2 separate regions of the Homo sapiens genome follow, and region 1 is linked to region 2. Evidence: promoter capture Hi-C in 16 types of primary human blood cells and fetal thymus (Javierre and others, 2016). All regions are on one chromosome and are shown on one strand. The core of a region is centred on a gene start or on the middle of the fragment in contact, and the rest is flanking DNA. Distances in the headings are between cores, read along the strand shown. Region 1 overlaps PCDHA1 (protocadherin alpha 1). Region 2 holds the start of PCDHB14 (protocadherin beta 14).

Evidence for each region. Contacts are between HindIII fragments. The CHiCAGO score rates a contact against its expected background, and 5 or more counts as called.
Region 1: a fragment that was not itself captured here is called in contact with the fragment with the promoter of PCDHB14 in region 2 in 1 of 17 cell types (M2 macrophages); the score reaches 7.4 in M2 macrophages.

The regions. Positions count from the first base shown.
Region 1 is chr5:140,955,329-140,961,912 of GRCh38, forward strand. The region is part of intron 1 of PCDHA1 (protocadherin alpha 1); the gene reads left to right. The region is part of intron 1 of PCDHA2 (protocadherin alpha 2); the gene reads left to right. The region is part of intron 1 of PCDHA3 (protocadherin alpha 3); the gene reads left to right. All of the region lies in intron 1 of PCDHA4 (protocadherin alpha 4), which reads left to right. It also overlaps PCDHA5, PCDHA6, PCDHA7, PCDHA8, PCDHA9 and PCDHA10, and 5 more genes. Among named protein-coding and RNA genes, the nearest start is that of PCDHAC2, 7.9 kb to the right of the region's middle. The HindIII fragment of the contact is 1,223 bases long and covers 3,691-4,913 here.
Region 2 is chr5:141,218,900-141,225,346 of GRCh38, forward strand. It overlaps PCDHB14 (protocadherin beta 14), which reads left to right and starts at 4,444. Exons shown (of 1, transcript NM_018934.4): 1 at 4,444-6,447. The coding sequence starts at 4,607. It overlaps PCDHB13 (protocadherin beta 13), which reads left to right. Exons shown (of 1, transcript NM_018933.4): 1 at 1-80. It also overlaps PCDHB@. The HindIII fragment of the contact is 16,360 bases long and covers 3,634-6,447 here.

The sequences.
Region 1 (6,584 bases), core at 3,052-5,551, 260 kb before region 2:
CCCATAATCCCCACATGTTGTGAGAGGGACCCAGTGGGAGGTAATTGAATCATGGGGGCAATTATCCCATACAGTTCTCATGATAGTGAGTGAGTTCTCATTAGGTCTGATGGTTTTATAAGGGCTTTTTCCTTTTTGCTTGGCACCTCTCCTTCCTGCCACCATGTGAAGAAAGACGTGTTTGCTTTCCCTTCCACCATGATTCTAAGTTTCTTGAGGCCTCCCCAGCCATACTGAACTGTGAGTCAATTAAACCTCTTTCTTTTATAAATTACCCAGTCTCAGGCAGTTCTTTATAGCAGTGTGAGAACAAATTAATACACATATGAATTTTAACATAGTTTTTTCGAAATCTGTGATGAATGTCAATGGAAGTTTAATAGGAATACCATTGAATCTATAAATTACTTTGAGCATTATTGCCATAACACTGATTCTGTCTATCCATGAGCATGGAATGTTTTTCTATTTGTTTGTGTCCACTGTGATTTCCTTGAGCAGTGGTTTGTCATTCTCCTTGAAGAGGTCCTTCACTTCCCTTTTTAGCTGTATTCCTAGGTGTTTTATTCTCTTTGTAGCAATTGTGAATGGGAGTTCATTCATAATATGGCTGTCTACTTGCTTGTTGTTTGTGCATAGGAATGCTAGCAATTTTTGCACATTGATTTTGTATCCTGAGACTTTGCTGAAGTTGCTTATCAGCTTAAGAAGCTTTTGGGCTGAGACAATGGGGTTTTCCAGATATAGGATCATGTCATCTGCAAACAAAGATAATTTGATTTCCTCTCTTCCTATTTGAATACCCTTTATTTCTTTCTCTTTCCTAATTGCCATAGCCAGAACTTCCAATACTATGCTGAATAGGAGTGGTGAAAGAGGGCATCCTTGTCTTGTGCTGGTTTTCAAGGGGAATGCTTCCAGGTTTTGCCCATTCAGTGTGGTATTGGCTGTGGGTTTATCATATATATGGCTCTTATTATTTTGAGATATGTTCCTTCAATACCTAGTTTATTGAGCATTTTTAACATGAAGGGATGTTGAATTTTATCGAAGGCCTTTTCTGAATCCATTGAGATAATCATGTGGGTTTTGTCTTTAGTTCTGCTTATGTGATGAATTACATTTATTGATTTGCATATGTTGAACCAGTCTTGCATCCCAGGGATGAAGCCTACTTGATCATGGTGAATAAGCTTTTTGATGTGCTGCTGGATTTGGTTTGCCAGTATCTTATTGAGGATTTTTGCATTGATGCTTATCAGGGATATCAGCTGGAAGTTTTCCTTTTTGTTGCATCTCTGCCAGGTTTTGGTATCAGGATGATGCTGGCCTTAAAGGAGTTAGGGAGGAGTACCTCCTTTTCCATTGTTTGGAATAGCTTCAGAAGAATTGGTACCAGCTCCTCTTTGTACCTCTGATAGAATTCAGCTGTAAATCTGTCTGGTCCTGGGCTTTGTTTGCTTGGTGGGCTATTTATTATTGCTTCAATTTGTAATTTAATATTTTTAAATCTTGGGTTAAATGGTTGAATGAATGTGTGAAAAGTTAGATATCAATGAATGAATATTCTTAAATGTATAAACTTTAATCTTGCTGGATATAGGATAAAATTTACATTAAAACACTGTAATTAATCAGTCAATTTAAGTAAAATAAATTCAAGGAAGTGGTCTGAATTTCTCAGTGAGCATTTAGATATTTATGGGAGTCATATAAAATAAATTATAAATGTGACTGAGGGCTTTTTATTAAGGAAAATGAAATATTGCTATGGACATGATTCTGTGTGTTTCTTTACTACACTATGAACTAAAAATTTTGGAGACAAATCTAAGTATATAAATTGGTTTATTGATGACCGATTGGGAATATAAATAGGCACAAAAATTTGGCGAAGCATTTTGGCATGTCTACCTAAAATTTAAATATGTAAGCACTAGTCCCCCCTTACCTGCAGTTTCACTCTGAGCAGTTTCAGAAAATAGGTGAGCACAGTACAGTAAGATATTTTGAGAGAGAGACCACATTCATAAAACTTTTATTATAGTGTATTGTTATAATTGTCCTAATTTATTATTATTGTTGTTAATCTTTTACTGTGCCTAATTTATAAATCACACTTTATCATAGGTATGTATGTATAGGAAAAAACATAGTATATGTAGAATTCAGTATTATCCTTGGTTTCAGACATTCAGTGGGGATCTTAGAAAGTATTCTCTGTGGAAAAGGAGGGACTACTGTACTTTTAACAAAGCACTTCCCAGAATAAACACACAGACATATACATGCACACACTTTCAGAAATGCACTTAAATATTCAATCATGGAGTAAAAATTAATTATGAAATATCTAGACAATGAACATTATGTAGTTTTTATTAAGAAAGAAGCAGAATTATATATACTGACATGAAAGGATGTTCATTATATATGTTAAGTAAAAACTAAGTTCATCATATATGTTAAGTAAAAAAAAGTCACAAATTAAGAGAAAGTGTTAATTGATTTGAGAGTTTGTGTATTTTTTTTCCTATTTTGTGCTGAAAAGCTGAAGTTGGCATCAACCAAGGCATATTGTTATCTATGTATCAAGCTAAATAATTTAAAGATCTTTAAGACTATTAATTCAGAGATGCTGTATAAATAGAATCAGTGCCAGATTTTTTGTTTCAATTCTATCAGCCAAGTATACTATGCTTTCTTTGCTTGTGATAGAAAAAAGAGAGAAAAAACACAGAAGCAAAAAGTAAAGTTGTACAATAGTGTGTAGAGTGTGGTTCCATTTTGTAAAATGTATCAGTGTGTATATTTATATAGCATAGTCAAAAGCCTGGAGTGATATAAATTTTCTGTTACTGGTCTAGTATACAAGGGAATTAGATTTTAAAGGACTTTCATTGTTTTTAACAATTCTGAACAAATTTAATTTGGTACAAGAAGTATATATTTTAAATATTATTGAACTTAATTAAAATAAATTAGAGCTCAAAAAATAAATAAATCACAGGAAGTTCACAGTCTGACTTTATCAGGAATGTTGCTATTTTCTTAACAGGTCATCAAACATTATCACTGATGCTTGGAAAGAAGCACTTTTTATAATTTAAAAATACCTTTTATTCTTCAACTTCTGCTGGCTTAAAGAGCACTAAGTCCACATATCCTAGGAGGCATGGCTGTCCAATATATACTATGTGTACATTGATTTATGAACCAATAAATGTTTCATACACAGTTGAGATTTTAAATGAGCTTATGATAATTGGATCAAAGGAATACTAGTCCAGCTTGAGAGTACTGCAGAAAACCAATCACAGAAAGCTATGATGAAATTTTAATTATAAAGGATATTGAATATCCTAGAGTGACAACTCTGTTATAATAAATGTAACACTGAATGGGAAAGAGAGAAAGGAGATTTTTACCCATTTCTGTTTGAAATCAACTTTCTATTTCTAGTAAATTATCACACCATTCTGTTTTAATTTTTATATCTTAAAGTTATCATTCCAGTGTCTTTGGTTTACTGGGTTTATAAAAGAATTGACCAGTAGCTATATAATAGATACAGAAAAGTCTGCCTGGGTGTGGTGGCTCATACTTGTAATAATATTATATTATTATAATTGTTCTATTTTATTATTAGTTATTGTTGCTAATCTTTTACTGTACCTAATTTATACATTAAGCTTTATCATGGGTATGTATGTATAGGAAAAAATGCAGTATATATAGAATTCAGTATTATCCTTGGTTTCGGACATTCAGCAGGGGTCCGAAGGTGGGCGAGGTGAGCCCACTTTGGGAGGCCAAAGTGGGCAGATTGCTTGACCCCAGGAGTTCAGGACCAGTCTGGGCAACATGGTGAAATGCTGTCCTTACAAAAAATACAAAAATTATCTGGGCATGATAGTGCATGACTGTAGTCCCAGCTACCCAGGAGCCTGAGGTGGGAGCATCACTGAGCCCGGTGGTTGAAGCTGCAATAAGTTTTGATTATGCTACTGCACTCCAGCGGGACAACTGAGTGAGACCCTGTCTCAAAAAAAAAAGTCACAAATTAAGATAAAGTGTTGATTGATCTGAGAATTTGTGTATTTTTTTCTATTTTGTGCTGAAAAGCTGAAGTTGGCATCAATCAAGGCATATTGTTATATATGGATCAAACTAAAAAATTTTAAGATCTTTAAGACCATTAATTCAGAGATGCTGTATAAATAGAATCAGTACTAGATTTTTTGTTTCAATTCTATCAGCCAAGTATAACATGCTTTTCTTGCTTGTGATAGAAAAAAAGAGAGAAAAAACACAGAAGCAAAATTGAAGAATTTGTAAATCATTTCTAAATAATTTCAATAAAATGAGCTTTGAAAGGGAAAATTTTTAGATAACATTATCTCATCAAAATGCCTTAAAGTATATTTTAATATTCAGTAAGAACAGTGTATATTAACATGGCTAATTTAGAGGATTTATATTTTACCCACATGATAATGTATTATGCCTGTAACTGCTAAAGGAATTATGTAGCAAAATCTGTCAAGGAATACACGAGTGGGATTTATATCAGAAAAATCAAAGCCATTTGTAAAGCCCCATTACTTAGGCAGAATATCATAGGTAGGAGGTAGATGTTACTGAAAGAAGAAGTTGGGATATGAAATACAAATCTATTTTGCATCATGATTTTGTTAAGTCCGGCTGTTTATTATTAAAAACATGTACAGAAGATTCAATTGAAGTTTCTAAAAGAGAAAGAAACTTGTAGTTGTGGGAACAATAGTATTCCTTATGAAATACTTAGATATTAATAGCTTGAGACTGATAATACAATTCTTAAGTTAGGGGTTGCATGTGTAGTGGTCAGATGTTATTTCAGGATCTCAAGAAACAGAGCCATGGTAAAAAGAAGCTTCCTGGAGCTTCTGATAAATTCCGTCACCTTTTTGGGACCCAGTTTCTTCATCAATACCAACCTCATTAGGGTCCTGTGAGAAGTACATGAGGTGAGATATGTACTGAAATAATATGCCAACTCTTAAGTGCCAAGACATTAGGATGCAAGGGGGGGTGCCCAAAAAGTCAACAATTACTTGATACTCTAGATATATGTATGGATAATTTTGAGAAGTAATCCTTCTTACACAGAGGTGTAGGTTTGTTTGTTCCAAGCAGCAAACATAATGGGTATAGGAAAGAGAAACTGTGGCCTTCATATAGACTGAGCTTAGGAAAACAGTTGGAAAACAGTTCAAATTCAAGGTACTTCAACAATATCTAGTGTGTTTTTGAAATATATTTTTAAAACCCCTATCCAAATCAATGAATGCTTTGGCTAAAACCTACTTGGGAATGAGGGTGTTCTTTAGTGCCAAATACTCATCTTATTTTAGTCCATGATTTTAGTCCATGGCTAAAATCCCAAGAGTTACAGAGGAGAAATAGGGCCAAACAAGGTTTCTATTAAAATAAGAGGTCCCAAGTGATGAATGGAAACTTGGAACAGGTTTAATGGCAACTATAAGCCAGAAATTAGCTGAAATACACACTAATGAATTTGGGGCATATCTTGAGTTTCAGATAGAAAATTGGTACTAAGTTTAGTGAATTAGAAACATAGCTTAACCTAGGCAGTTGCAATTCTTGTTCCAAAAATGCTCAATTTGCTGCTGGACTGCATGGACACTTGCTACCTCCTTGTTTTGAGTCATTAACAAAATGTTGAATGGGATATCTGGAGTATCAAGTAATTGTTGACTTTTTGGTCACCCAACCCCCTTGCATCTTAATGTCTTGGCACTTAAGAGTTGGCATATTATTTCAGTACATATCTAACCTTATGTACTCCTCACAGGACCCTAGTGAGGTTGGTATTGATGAAGAAACTGGGTCCCAAAAAGGTGATGGAATTTATCCGAAGCTCCAGGAAGCTTCTTTTTACCATGGCTCTGTTTCTTGAGGTTAAAGAACATGATTTACCAGGCTCTGTTTCTTGAGAGACCAAGAGTGGATCCCTGTAGTCCCCATTAGAATTCTCCTTCTAGTTTGAACTATTCCATTAGTAAACACTTTTTGGCATGTTATTTAAACAATTACAAAATCACCTAACTACACTGTCTTGCAGCTGCCTTTCTTTTTTTGTCTTGTCCACGTGAGTATATTGGGAGACTTTGTTTAATGTCTCCACAAATTCTAGATAGACTGTTCCTGCAGCATTTCTTTTTTTAAATTTTGTTTTGATAAGCATTTATTTTGGCAATGATTCTAGTAAATGAAACTAAAGTGCCCATATGAAAAACAATCTTAAGTCTATGTGGTTAGTTTGAAGTTACCAGTTTTTAATTAAGCCGGAGTAGTCCTTAGTATGAATGCCTTCATTTCTAAGTGCTCATAAACAATCACTTTAGTAATATTACAGTTTTGAAGGAATTTATATCAAGCTTAATGGCACTTTTTAAAAGATAGGAAATTGGGTTCTCTAGTCACATCTGTAAGTTATTTCAGTGCCTTGGAAGATCATTTATCTGGCCACAGATAATTGACTTACTTACATCAGTTTTTTTTTTTTTTGAGATGGAGTC
Region 2 (6,447 bases), core at 3,194-5,693:
AAGAGTAGTTCAAACAACTCAGACAGAAAATCTCGCTGGTGCAACAGTGGAGAGAAGGGCCAAGTACTTGTCCTGTTACTTCCAGTTTTTCTAGATATATGAGCAGCAGGACTCCTCTCTTTATAAAAAGAACTATGAGTTTCCTGGCTCTAATGAAGAGTGACCAGGCATTCAGGAGCTCAAATGCCCAGATACATATAACCAACCAATTCTCCTAGAATGCATTGCTAAAAACGAATTTTGCTTATATGCTTCAAAGACCTCATTTATAGTTATACTTAAAACAGTGCATAGGAATCAAGCTGTATCAGCCAATTTTATATGAAAGAACTATAGGTTGTAAGTAACTTAGAATATAATTTTTTATCTAGCGGGGGTTAAAGGACACTTAGAAAATAGAGACACAAGAGATGGCCCAGCCTTACAGAATGGATTCTCCTGAAAACGCTTACAATAAAAACCAAATAACAGTATTTTTTTTTTATTTAGGCAATAGTATGGGAGGGAAAAGGGACATAGGACATTTTATCTTACAAACACATTGTTCTCTTTATCTTTCTGTTTCAAGTTCTACCACCACTCCTGGGTCCACTGATTAATCTAACAACATGGCCTCTCAGTCCCTAAGTCTTTACCTCTACTCCTGTTTTTCAGTCATTAATGCCCTGGCTACATATTGTACTTTTTCCCCACCAAGAAACTGTTCTATGATATAATAATTTCAGCTATCTCCCTCTGAGTGCACAATTGTCTATGCCTATAACCTTCTCATTCTGCTGTTTCTATCACATCTTGTCTTTGACCTTATCAGAGCTCCATTCCATGGTGCTGTTACTACCTATCAAACGCTCCTGTTTTAATTTCCTTCCTATTCAGCTGATTTCCTGGTTTACCACTCCCAGTTGCTCTCATGCCCATATTCTCAATTCCCTTGTTCAATTTTCCTTCACTAAAACCACCTGATGAAACTCCAGCCCAGATGAATATAGTCCTCCTCCTCTCTTACACATGGGGTGCTGCACTCTATAAGACCAAACTTACAAAATTAGCAATACCACTGCCACTATAAATGTATAATATTCAAACCTAATTGGGCTTCTGAGACCAAGAACTCCTTTTATAATTTTTCTAACGAGCTTTCTCTTCTACGCTCCACAACAACTATTTTAAACCTACGTATCTTACTTTAAACTTCTTACCCTACCACTTAGATACCCCCTTTTATCCGATGAACTTGCCTGATACCTTATTGAGAAAATAGAATCCATCAGCTAGAAATTCATTTTCCTGTCCCCTACTCCACAGCTTTAACAGCATCTGTATCTATACTTTTCACCTGCTGAGGTCCGTCCCACTGGTCTAAATCCAAACACTTCATACATTGCCTGGATCCCATCTTTAACAACCTTTCTAGGGGACTTGCATTATCCCTTCTGTATCTTAATTTTCTCCTTCCCTACTGAACATTACACATTGGCATTTTAAATATATTCAAGTTTCTCTAGTCTTTAAAATACTCTCTGAGTCTGAATTCTTCTCCAGATACCAATGTATTTCTTATTCCTTTTACAGCCTTTTCATTCTTTACAAATTTCTTGAGAGCCTGGATGCAGTGAGCCAGTGAGCCTGGGTGACAGACTGAGACCCTGTCTCAAAAAAAAAATTGTTGAAAGAGCGGTTTACCTCATTTTTGCTTCCTCATCCGCCTCACTTTGCACCGAAGTACAATCTAATTTTCATCACAACCATTCTACTGAAACTGCTATTGCAAATGTTATCAAAGATTTCCATATAAGTTAAGATTATACTGTGGAACCAATGTGATGCAATGACACAGTGGCTTGTAAACATGTCTCTCTTTTTCACATGACAGTACCAATGTAAAAATTATTAGGTAGGTAGGGCAGCTTTCATCCTCACAGTCCTTCTGAAACCAAATTTTCTTTCAAGTAATTTCTTCAACATTCCCTATGGCAATATAATCTGCATGGCTGTAGCTGGGTCACTGTCACATCTGGGTTCTAGCTCGCTTGGAAGAAAGAGGCATATCCAGATGATTTCTGTTCTATAACTGGAAGGGGAAGACAGAAATTCTGCTCACAATCCATCTGTGAGAACTTAATTCACTTGGCCACACTCAAATACAAGGGAGGCTGGGATGGGCAATCTACCTTCATGGCCACATACCTGGGCACAGTTCTATTACTATAGAAGCAAAGGAAAACAGATTTTGTCAGACATCTATCAGAATCCTCCACAATGACCATCTTTTTAAGCCCACTGGATAATTGTCATACTTATTTTTCTTGATTTTTCTGAAGCATTTGCAGCCATTGATCTTCCTTATCTCCTTAAAATGCTATTTGCTTTTGATTTCATGATTTTGAACTCTGAGCCTTCTTTATCTTTTCAAATATACTTCTTGCCCTGTCTCCTCTAAATGAAGATGTTTCTCAGAGTTCTGTGCCAAGCCTCTTTTATACTTATTTGACACACTTTTGCTTGGTTATCCTAGAGCATTCATGGTGTGTATATATATATATATATATATATATATGGTGATTGAAACCATGAATGCTATATATATATATATGCTATATATATGCTCTCTGTATATATGCTATATATATGCTCTCTCTCTATATATATGCTATATATATGCTCTCTCTCTCTGTCTCTCTCTGTCTCTCTCTATATATATACATATATACACACCACAGTTCATATTGCCAGCTCAGATTTATTTCCTATGCTTTGGTTATATGCAAACACACACACACACACCCCACCACCACGCAAACACACATCCTACAGGCACTTACCTCAATATCAGCATGTTCAAAACTGAACACTTCATCTTTTTCCACCCCAATCATGTTTTTTTTTAGCATTCCCTGTCCTAGTGAATGACACCACTAGTCATCCAGATGCCCAGTCCAGAGGTGTGATATCATCTCTGAGTCTTTCCCATTTTTCTCCCCATGCAACCTATCAACCAACAGTTGAAAACATTTCATCTCCTCATACCTTTCTATTCATCCCTCTTCTCTCCATCCACACTGGCATTATCCTCATCCAGATCATCATCTCTTATCTGATCTCCTTGATTCTCCAGTCACTCCCCCTGAAATTAATTCTCCATACTGCAGCCAAACTGATTTTTTAAAATGCAGATGTAATCATGTTAATCAGATATTTAAAACCCATCTTTGTACTTGAATTACCTTTAGGATAAATTCAAGAATGCATGATATGACCTGTATAATGATTCATGTTCTCACCATGCTTTTAACCCTAATTTCATTGTTAGACCCTCCCCTTCCATAGTTTTTAAAGTCCAAGGCATACTTCATTTCTCTGTGTTCCTCAAAATGCCCATCTGAAATATTCCTCCTTCTCCTGGCTAGTTCCTTCAGATCACAATGTATTTTTCATTACCTCAGGAAAGCTTTCACTGATGTCCCAAGTCCGACTTTGATCTTAATTATTTTATTTTTGACAGACACTTAACCAGCACTTACAAACCACTTTGTAAATATTAATTCATTAGATGCCTACGATAATAATCATAGGAGACAAATATTATTACCCCATTTTACAGGTGAGGAAACAAAGGTATCTATAACTTGCCCAAGCTTATAGATAGTAAGTCACATAACCAGGATTCTAATATTGATAATTTGGTTCCAGATCCCATATTCCCAAGCACTAAGGTATGCAGCCTCCTAGGTACAAGAAGTCTTTTCTAGGTATTTCTATATTACTTTTTATAAATGCATACATTATGACATACTTCGTTTACTTGTCTGCCAATTTTTCTAGCTTGTGAGCTCTGTAAGAGCAAGAATTATCTCTAACTTATTTGTGCCATGTCCTTCTTTATATTTTTAAAATATAAAAGTGAAAAAAGTAATGATATTACCAACTATAGCTGACAACAAGTATTTACAAGAGTGAAGGAGATAATATATTTGTAATTACTCGAGAAATGACTTAAATAAAAAATTATTTCTTCAGTTCAGAATATTTTAACAGATCCTTTAGTGCCGAGCATTCAAAACAGTGATAATGCAGTGTATGGACTTTTCTGGATTCAAATTCAAACAAACCAACAGCAAAGGACATTTTGGAGAGAACTGGGGAAAACCAAATGCAGTATAAATTACACCAAGGAATTATTGCTCAAGTTGTTGATTGTGAACGTTTTATTACAATTATCTTTTAGAAGGCCTTACCTATTAAAAATACTTAGTGAAGTATTTAAAGGAAAAAAAATGATGTCTGGGATTTGTTTCGAATGTTCCGGATGTATTTATGAATTACTTTTTCAAAGAGGAAAACTTTTTTAATGAAAAAAAAAACATGGAGACACATGGTGGCGCTACAGGATAAGACGAAAACAGTACATAGGCTGGCACGGTGAGCTTCGCTATTCAGGAGAACAGAAAGCATCCAACCCACTGAAAAGACAGGCATTAAAGGAGCTTCGCCTACAGAGCTGCTGGAGGATACACTCTCCAGGGGGTTCCTGTTAAAAACCAGAGCTTCAGCTTCCAAAATTACGGCTGAGCTTCAGTTTTTCCACAAGAGATTGCCTAAAGGAACCATGGAGATCAGAGGGGCACTCGATCTGCGAAAAAGGCAAGTTCTAATATTCCTTGTTTTGCTGGGATTGTCTCGGGCAGGTACTGAATCTGCACACTATTCTGTGGCAGAGGAAACAGAAATTGGCTCTTTTGTGGCTAATCTAGCGAGGGACCTAGGGCTGGGGGTGGAGGAGCTGTCTTCACGTGAAGCCCGGGTAGTGTCTGATGATAATAAAAAGTATTTGCACCTTGATTTGCTGACTGGGAATTTGCTCCTAAATGAGAAACTAGACCGAGACGAGCTGTGTGGCTCCACCGAGCCCTGTGTGCTGCATTTTCAGGTGGTTTTGGAAAACCCTTTACAGTTTTTTCGGTTTGAGCTGTGTGTCAAAGACATAAATGATCACTCCCCTACATTTCTAGACAAGGAAATACTTATTAAAATATCAGAAGGTACCACTGTTGGAGCTACCTTTCTAATGGAGAGTGCTCAAGATTTGGATGTCGGAAGCAACAGTCTCCAAAACTACACAATTAGCCCCAATTCTCACTTCTACATTAAAATTCCCGACAGTAGTGACAGAAAGATATACCCAGAGCTGGTCCTAGATAGAGCTTTAGATTATGAACAGGAAGCTGAACTCAGATTAACACTCACAGCAGTGGATGGTGGATCCCCGCCCAAGTCTGGGACAACTTTGGTTCTCATCAAGGTGTTGGACATCAATGATAATGCCCCTGAGTTTCCTCAGAGTCTCTATGAGGTGCAAGTCCCCGAGGACAGACCCCTTGGCTCCTGGATTGCCACCATCTCAGCTAAGGATCTGGATGCAGGAAACTATGGAAAAATATCTTACACATTTTTCCATGCATCAGAAGATATTCGTAAAACATTTGAAATTAATCCAATATCTGGGGAAGTTAATTTGAGATCACCCCTGGATTTTGAAGTAATACAGTCCTACACTATAAATATTCAGGCAACAGATGGTGGGGGTCTTTCAGGAAAATGCACCCTTCTAGTTAAAGTTATGGATATAAACGACAACCCACCAGAAGTGACCATATCGTCGATTACAAAGAGAATTCCAGAGAATGCCTCAGAGACCCTAGTAGCTCTTTTTAGTATCCTAGACCAAGACTCTGGAGACAATGGGAGGATGATTTGCTCTATTCAAGATAACCTCCCTTTTTTCCTGAAACCGACCTTCAAGAACTTTTTCACTCTAGTTTCTGAAAAAGCACTGGACAGAGAGAGCCAAGCCGAGTACAACATCACGATCACCGTCACAGACTTGGGGACACCCAGGCTGAAAACCGAGTACAACATAACCGTGCTGCTCTCTGACGTCAATGACAACGCCCCCACCTTCACCCAAACCTCCTACACCCTGTTCGTCCGCGAGAACAACAGCCCCGCCCTGCACATCGGCAGCGTCAGCGCCACAGACAGAGACTCAGGCACCAACGCCCAGGTCAACTACTCGCTGCTGCCGCCCCAGGACCGGCACCTGCCCCTCGCCTCCTTGGTCTCCATCAACGCGGACAATGGCCACCTGTTTGCCCTCAGGTCGCTGGACTACGAGGCCCTACAGGAGTTCGAGTTTCGCGTGGGCGCCACAGACCGCGGGTCCCCGGCGTTGAGCAGCGAGGCGCTGGTGCGCGTGCTGGTGCTGGACGCCAACGACAACTCGCCCTTCGTGCTGTACCCGCTGCAGAACGGCTCCGCGCCCTGCACCGAGCTGGTGCCCCGGGCGGCCGAGCCGGGCTACCTGGTGACCAAGGTGGTGGCGGTGGACGGCGACTCGGGCCAGAACGCCTGGCTGTCGTACCAGCTGCTCAAGGCCACGGAGCCCGGGCT